Linked DNA regions of Homo sapiens: region 1 is linked to region 2. Evidence: promoter capture Hi-C in human tissues and cell types (Jung and others, 2019). All regions are on one chromosome and are shown on one strand. The core of a region is centred on a gene start or on the middle of the fragment in contact, and the rest is flanking DNA. Distances in the headings are between cores, read along the strand shown.

The links. Contacts are between HindIII fragments. The study calls those that stand out against the background at their distance.
Region 1: a contact is called between a fragment that was not itself captured here and the fragment with the promoter of GPD2 in region 2, in 1 of the 25 tissues and cell types used here (hippocampus).

What each region holds. Positions count from the first base shown.
Region 1 is chr2:155,706,707-155,710,873 of GRCh38, reverse strand. No RefSeq gene overlaps it. Among named protein-coding and RNA genes, the nearest start is that of LINC01876, 550 kb to the left of the region's middle. The HindIII fragment of the contact is 5,969 bases long and covers 1-4,167 here.
Region 2 is chr2:156,434,885-156,438,996 of GRCh38, reverse strand. It overlaps GPD2 (glycerol-3-phosphate dehydrogenase 2), which reads right to left and starts at 2,618. Exons shown (of 17, transcript NM_000408.5): 1 at 2,484-2,618. RefSeq lists silencers at 2,497-2,906, 3,347-3,516 and an enhancer at 3,057-3,106. The HindIII fragment of the contact is 7,799 bases long and covers 1-4,112 here.

The sequences.
Region 1 (4,167 bases), core at 521-3,020, 730 kb after region 2:
TTTGTGGTTAGGTAAATGACTACTTTCAGGAGTTTTGAATTAATGATTTATTTGTGATCAGGAACAGAATGAACCATAAACATATTACTTGAAGTGTTTTGTTTTTCCCCAATAGACATGATTGATGGTGCTCTAGTCTGGTTTTCCTTGTGATCAACGACTTTTATTTATGAAGTGACATGACCAATGGCAATAGAGTTCATTAAGAAATTAGGCTACCAAGTTTCTTTAAATTTCAGATTTATTTTCAAAAAGGGTGCTTATATTATATACTCACTAGTAAGCTATATAATTTTGTGGCGCTTACTGTTTTAATTAAGCTATTGAACAAATTTTTGTAAATATCTTTTGGGTGCAGGCTACATATGAGCTTATTACTAGGGTTGGCATCAGGATGAGATGACCACAGAAATAAATAATATGTGCTTTTGGTCTTAAGACAGTTTCAGTTTAAAGAAAGAGGCAGATTTTTACATAAATAACACCAAAAAGTAAATTGAATAAGGAGATGGGGCTGTTAAGTAAGAAACTTAAGCCCACATTTCATATTGGAACCCTGGATCGTTAATTATAATGTGGGTTTTCCAACTGTGTTCCATAAAGTCCTACCAAGATGTAGTAGAAGGGGCCACTATATTTAAAATAAAACAAAAACAAACGTACAACATTTTTGTTTTTATTATAAAAATATACATTTAAAAAAATAAGACAAACTTATGAAAAAGAAACCATAATTCCACACTATCAATGAACTATAATTTCATTAATATGTGTCCCTCTGTCTTCCTTACCCCAAAATGGGATCAAACTATTAAGAAAAAACTTTGTAGCCTACATTTTTACTTAATACATCATGAACTGCTTCCTATGTTATAAACAATTTGTGTAACAGTTATACATTCATACTTGTTTATCCAATAAAAAATTGCTTACAGATAATTTATTATATTACAGATACATTCACTTTCCAGGGATACAATGGGTAAACCAAAGATATGTGTTGCTGATAGTGCCAAATCATACTAGAATTTGGGACAAAAGAACTGGTTGACTAGAAGAAGATGCAGGAAAAAATGTATCTTTTCATCTTCTATTAAGTCACTGTTGAGGATGTTAACTAAGTGTTTGGCCAACAGATGAGTTCTGTTCTGTGCGTCCTTTGTTATCATGAACTGCAAGAACAAAGTACTGAGAATTGCTTAATTTTGTTCTACTCACAAAACAGAATATGATGTCTGTTCACTATGCACATAAATGAGATCATAAAATCAAGACTTTAAAGGTAGAATAGGGAATTATACAAGTATTGATTCAAGTCCTGGCTCTATCATCCAAAAATTGTGTGACCTTATTTGAAAGCATTCTACTGATTCCTGGCCTGGCCCTAGAAGTTCAAAGAACACCAGAGTAGGTAAGGGAAATTCTGCTTTTAACAATTTTCTTACGTGGTTCTGACCATCTGAAATAACAAAGCATAAATAGAACACTGGTGAAACATATAGAGGAAATAGGACTATACTACTTTTTTTCTAGTAGTTATATGTCTTCAGTCTACAACCACCAGAATTTTTATGATCCTCTCTGTCATCTAGCTATTATCTATGTATTATCTAACTCTATCTAATTAGCAGTAAGAACATTTTCCCAGATAAACAAATGTAGATTTTGAATTGATTGCAGAAGAAGTCAGAGAGGGAGAAAATAATTTTTTTTCACAAACATAAGAACATATATGTATTTAAAAATGTGTGAGAATGTCTGTGTCTATGCATGTGTACTTATTCCCAATTTTTACTAATTTTGTCCTATACCAATCATGTGCGCTTCCTTGTAACTTTTCCTTTACCTAACCAAATATGAATGCACCAGGAAGCTCTTTAATTGGGAGTGGGTATGATCTCCAAGTGTGTGGGACTGGTCCATATGAATTAAAAAATACTAAAGGAAATAGAGAGCTCTCCACTTAAAATTAGTGCTCAAAACAGAGAGTAATTAGGTTTAGTAGAAAACTCAGTTAAAGTTGTTATGTGACTACACTATTAGAATTAAGAGGTAACTGAGATTTCCCAAGTGATAATAGATAATTTGCTGTTTAGCCTGTAATGAGGTTTGAAAAAAAGATGCTCAACAAGATATCAGCAGTAACTATAAAGACATTTCTTAGAAGGTCCACCCAGTGGGCATTTATTCCTTTATCCTTATAAAAGAGACAAACTGTCTAATGCAATATACTCTCAGTTCTCATCATTAGTGCCCCCAAAAAGATTTCTATTGACCCTAACCATCTCTACTGACTATTTCCTCCCTGCTGGCTTTTCCTGGTTTTCTGCTGAACTATTCTGTCACGAGACATGAGTCAGATGTGGTGGGATAGTGCAGAGAAAGAGAAATCACAACCTTCAATGTTGTAGTAATTACATTTTTACTAGAAATATCCAGAGAAATAGGATGCAATCTTTAAATGCATATGCAAATCATGTGCAAATTATATGCTAATACATGTGTGGCCCGCCTAACGATTACACATAACTGAATGCAGCCCTTGGGAAAATCTTATTGGAGATCATTGGTCTAATGAAAGTTGCTGCTGCATGCTAATTACAGTGACATGTGTGCTGCTGTATTGCCCCTTAGTGGTGAGGGGAATGACAGAGGTTAGTTGAAGTTAGATGACTGACTGACAGGAATTATGTCTGTCACCACAGAAGTAAATAGCAAAATATGTCTATTCTCTGAAATCCAATTTTTATGTCTTTGTATCTAAATTAAAATGCAGTCTTGTATGACCACTGACAATGTGTTCAGGAAGATAGGAGTCTGGAGACAAAAGATACAAATTACTAATTGACTGAGTCAGGTTAGTCTTTCTTTGCTATAGTATTTTCACAAATTTTCTATTTCTTAACAGTTGACTAACTCATTGGAAATATGAAGATTATAGAAATATACTATATACATTTAGAGAAGTAATAGTACTCATTTTTCAAAAATAAGTCAAGTTCTAAAGAGATTTAATGCCTCCTTTAAAACAGACAAATCCAAGCTCCACTATGTTCAGCTGTATGACCTTGGACAAGTCTCTTAACATCTTTGAGTCTTGAATTACTTAACCACAAAAATATGATAATAGTATATACCTCCTTGGGTAATTAGAGGATCGCATGAAATACTGTTTTACAGAGCCTAGGGTTTGAAAGGCAGGTGCTCATGAACCTATTATATTTCAAATAAGTGATTTTTTAAAAGTATTTATTATTTATATCTAAATATGTTCTCTATTTTAAACTAATTTTTAGTTTATGATATTGACATTTCCTAATTAGAGAGATACTCAATATTTGAGAGGTGACTCATTCTTATTTAAGCTATCTCAGAAAAAAAATTAAAAAATAGACTTGATTGTGATGTAGAATATTAAACAGAAATATAATTTGTGATTGTATTTAGGAATCCTAATACCACCATTTGAGACTTATGACTAAGAAATGAAGAGATTGAATTGTGGAGGAAGAGTGAAAGAATTACCTTAATTATTCATTAACCTAATTAGCTTAATTAATTTAAGCAGTTTCCCTGCTTGAAAGAAGTACTTTCCTGAACTTGTTCAGAAATCACATCTACCTTCATTAAAGCCAAAATAGACATAAAATGTTTTGTGGTTAGCTTACGATAAAGTTCAGGAATCAAAGGACTTGCCAATAGTGTTGTTCAGGAAATGGCTCATGGAAAGGATCCCTTGATTGCTAAGATTTACTGATACTTGCTAGGCTTCTTCTTATATCTTGTTAAAAGGCATTGATTTGCCATTTCTAGAACTATTTCAAGTTGGAAATTTCAGCATATTCAAGAGCTTCTTGAAGTTTTGGCTAAAATGAAGGTATATTACAATTTGTGGGGGAAAAAATTCATTGGAATTTTATTTGTATGTATTTACTATTAGCGTTTAATGCATCCAAGCTTATCTTCAGCATTGAGCAGCTTTATTACTATACAAGCAACATTAATAACAGTGCTTACTAAGTACTTTTCTATTGTGAGGATAATAGAAGAAAATATGATTGCTTTGGCAGTATGCTTTTCTCGAATTTGTTCTATTTGACATCTTAAAAATTAAATATAGGTTGTGTCATAATGGACACTAAATTGTGCCTTGAATGTAATGTCACA
Region 2 (4,112 bases), core at 1,369-3,868:
ATTCCCTTCACCAGGAAGCTGTCTCCAACTACTTGAGCCAATATTAACCTTTTCCTTCATAATCACATCAGTTCTGGCCAACATCCTACCACTGGAAAAATGATTGTACGAGGTCTTATGTTGGTCTCCAATTGTTTTCCATCTATGTTTTACCTTGTTAAACAACTGTAAGCTTCTCAAAAGAGGTTAACTATTTTTTTATTTAGCACTTATTACACAATATAATGCTGCACAAGAATACAGAAAATTTCATTTAAGAAGACTAGTGTTCATATATTTGATTTCTAGTCCTCTTTCTGAAGTGTTGTTTCTGCACTTAGGATAGCCCCATGAGTCCAGGTGTTGACAAACAGAAAGAATCAAGTTTTGGAAAACCTAAACAGAAACATCATCACATTCAAAAACTAAAACTGAGAAATTAGATACTGATCTGAAAATTGCTTCCCTTCTCTAATAACCATAGCTACCACTAACTCGCCTCTCCTCTCCCCATCCCAACACACTCAACTAACCGAAAAAAATGTACGGATAATTCATGCACAACATGCAAGAATTCTTTGCCCAAATTTTCAAGCTAACTACATTCTTTGCCCATATTTTCCTACTTGAGTATAAGAAGGAAAAATATAGGATGGAAGCTAGTCTTTTGAAGTCTACTACTTGCCAGGTACATTGCTAGCAATTTTACACACGTCATAGCATTTATTATCCATATTTTGCCAATGAGACAATTGAGGCTGAGTTTTAAAAGATGACCTAAGGCCAAAGTCTTTGGCTCCCCGCTCCACAACTACCCTCAGCTGGAGTTTGTTCCACAGTTCAGTCGCTCATTGAGAAAACATTTATTGAGGGTGTATTACAAGCTAGTCACCCCTCTAGGCATTGGAGGTCACTCATTGAGAAAACATTTATTGAGGGTGTATTACAAGCTAGTCACCACTCCAGGCATTAGAGTTTTGAAAGTATGCAAGACAGAACAAGCCCTGCTACTCTCATAGAACTTACACGCTAGAGATGAAAGAAAACAACCAAACAGGATAAGTTCAGAGTTATAATAGTTTGCCAACATGAGTTATGCACAATAATCATCAAATCTTTTAAAATATCTACAATGAGATTAAATAGTTACAAAAAAAACTAAAGGGGGTGGTAACACTCACTAACAATTGGTAACACTGTGGCCCTTTTGTCAATTCCTGAACCAAGCCATTGCATCTTTGAATGAATCACAAGGGAGAAAGAAGGAAGCAGAGCTCTAATGCTGTTTAGAATTTCTTTATAAAATAAAGTGACTCTATAAGCTATGAGAATGGACAGTTGCAATGAATCCATTGTTGGTTCTCAAACCCAAAACCCCATATTTACCCATTTATTCATTAAAATATTGCTGTATTATTTCACGAGTTGATTTGTAAAAGTCAAGGGAGTGTTGTAATTTGACATAACGCCCCTGTGAGAAACAGAGGGGGGTTTCAACATCCACATCACAAGGTTCCCCAGACTGCACACGGTCTCCATTGGGCAATGGCATCCAGATGTCATGTGGTAGCCAGCAAGAACTGTAGGACTGGGACTAGAGTGGTCAGTAGCTACGAAGAAGTGCCTGGGCCCAGTGTGACAGCTGCCAGCACCGTCCACACGCCAAAAAGAAACTTCACATCTCTTTAAACTTGGAACACATGCAAAATACTAACAGTTTTGTTTTAGCAATAAAGACTCCCTGTCACTTACTAACTTCCTTCCCTCACCTATTTATACAAGTATAAGTTGACTAGCTGCTATTTCTATAGCTGCCTCCTATGATATTTATAATGTGTTGTGTGTGATTTGGGTTGCCCATGTCACTAACACTTTGCAAGAATTTGTGTTTGTAAATTACTCTGGAACTCTTCTGGGAGTGAATATTCCACTGCACAAGGTGGAAGCCAGACTAGAGACCATCTGCTAAGAGCAGCACTTCATTCACCCAGCTACACCTTCCTGCCAAAGCACTCTTTGCAAATCTATTTTTGCTGGTAGAAGTTACTACATAGGGAGTGGAGGCTGTTTTAAGTTATCAGTGTGCACCTTCCATTTCCTCCTAGGACGGTCACACGCCAGCAGCTGAGTTTCTCAAAGAAGCCTCAGCCCTCCTCCAGACTCGTTCTCACTCTTGCTTCGGAAGGGAGCAACAATCCTTATCAGACTAGCCGCATCTACAAGCTAAAAGTTTGCATGAACTTTCAATGGGGTACCAACCCTCGCCCCAAAAGTCCTGCCACTTTACTATTTTACAAATGCCGCCTCCAAAACATAAACAACGAAACCCTAGAGAAGAGCGAATCCATCTTCTGCTGGTGGGAAGAAATTCTAAATCTTTCCCGTTTCCCGCCACCACCTACCGCCAAGACTGGAGTCCCAGAACACTCGCCCGGGTCAGAAAGGGACCACTCCCCCCCTAGAATACTAGAGGCGGGGGAAGGGGTCTCCCAGGAAGCACACACCTGAGATAGATCCTCACGCGCGAGGGGCCAGCGGGCAGGAGCACCCAGTTCCTCCAGCCAGGGTGGAGTCGGCCTCCCCCCAGAATCAGAGCCTCGGCCCGGGTGCTCCCAGCGAGGCGCGCGGGGCTGTCACTCGAGGCGGGCTGGGCGGGTGTAACTCGAGCGCCGGGCGGGCCGCGCCCCCGCCTTCCCTCTTCCCGACTTCCTCCTCCCGCTCCCGCGCCTGCTCCCTCCCGGAGGCCTGACCAGGGCGGCGAGGCCGCCACCTCCTGCCCGGATACCTCGGGCCCAGGCTCCTCCGGCCCAGCGGGGAAACGCGGAAGTGGGGGCGGGAACCGGGGCCGGGGTTGGCGGGGGTGTGGGAGGGAAAAGCCAACAGCGGGCGGCGAGCGAGGTGGTCTCCGTGGCCCAATGAACGTGACTAGACGGGGACGCGGGTCCTGCCGCCGGGTGGGGTCGCGCAGCGCCACACGCAAGGGCCCTCGCCCCTGGCTGCAGTTCCTGCTTTGTGCCTCGGCGATGCCGGACTCCAGACCTCCGCCCCGCCTTGCCAGCGGGCTGGCGGACTGGAAAGCCTGAGCTAGGCCAGGCTGGGGAAGACGGTGGCGGTGTCCGATTTCCTGTGCCCTCGCCCATGCGGGCCGCCCTGGCCATCTGCCTGCGGGAGAGGAGACACTCGTCCGCCGGCACGCTGGCGGGGCTGGCTTACCTGACGACTTCTCGTTGTCCGCCCTGGGATCTGGCTTCTCCTACTCTGTACCTCCCGGCCGGCAGGCTTCCCTAGGCCTACAGACGTGTCCAGGAGGCGGGCGACCCTGCGACCCCGCCGTCAGAGCCCAGAACCCTCGCCCGGCTCCCCCGGCGGGCTCTGGAGGCGCGCCAGGCCTCCTGGCTCCCCGCCTGAATGTCAGCGCAGGGACCCGCAGGGAAGACCAAGCCCAAGCTCCAGGGGGTGGAATGCTGAGCACAGGTTCCCCAGACCCAGCCTCATACAGGTGGGGGGAGGCGGAGAGCCCCGGCAGCTGAACAGCAGGCTTCCCACTTGCAACCCCCCGCCACCCAAAAAAAAAAAACGACCCTGCCCACTGAGCATGCCCAGCTTACTTGTTGGAACTCCTAGGGCTAGACAAGCCCAAGGGGACCTAAGGAAGGCAAAGTTGGGGCTCAAATGGACCCCACTTCTTTAACAGCTTTGCTCCGAAGACCTCTGGGTGCTGTACTAATAACCTTTCTATCGTGGTATTGGAAAATATCCAGGAGATGGACGGAAATGCCTTTCCAAAAGAAGGAAGAAAATTAGTGTGAACCAAAAAGCAGTGGTATTTTTTTAAATAAAGTATTAAGTCACTCATTTAATGTCCTTAAATACCGCAGAATTCCTGTAGTTGACCCAGAGGAATGCATATATTTATTAAATCCCAAACTCAGTAACTTCAGGGAACCATCCATAGTCCACAGAGGAGCAATGATTCTCACCCTTGGACACATTAAAATTGGGGGGAGGGGGCAGGGAGGGGTGGAATGCCAGATTTCCATCCCCAAGTCCAATGAGTCAGTCTGGACGTGGGATCTGCAAGTCCTTGTATTTTAAAACTGGCTCTAAAAGTGTAGTCACTGGAGCCCGCAGCA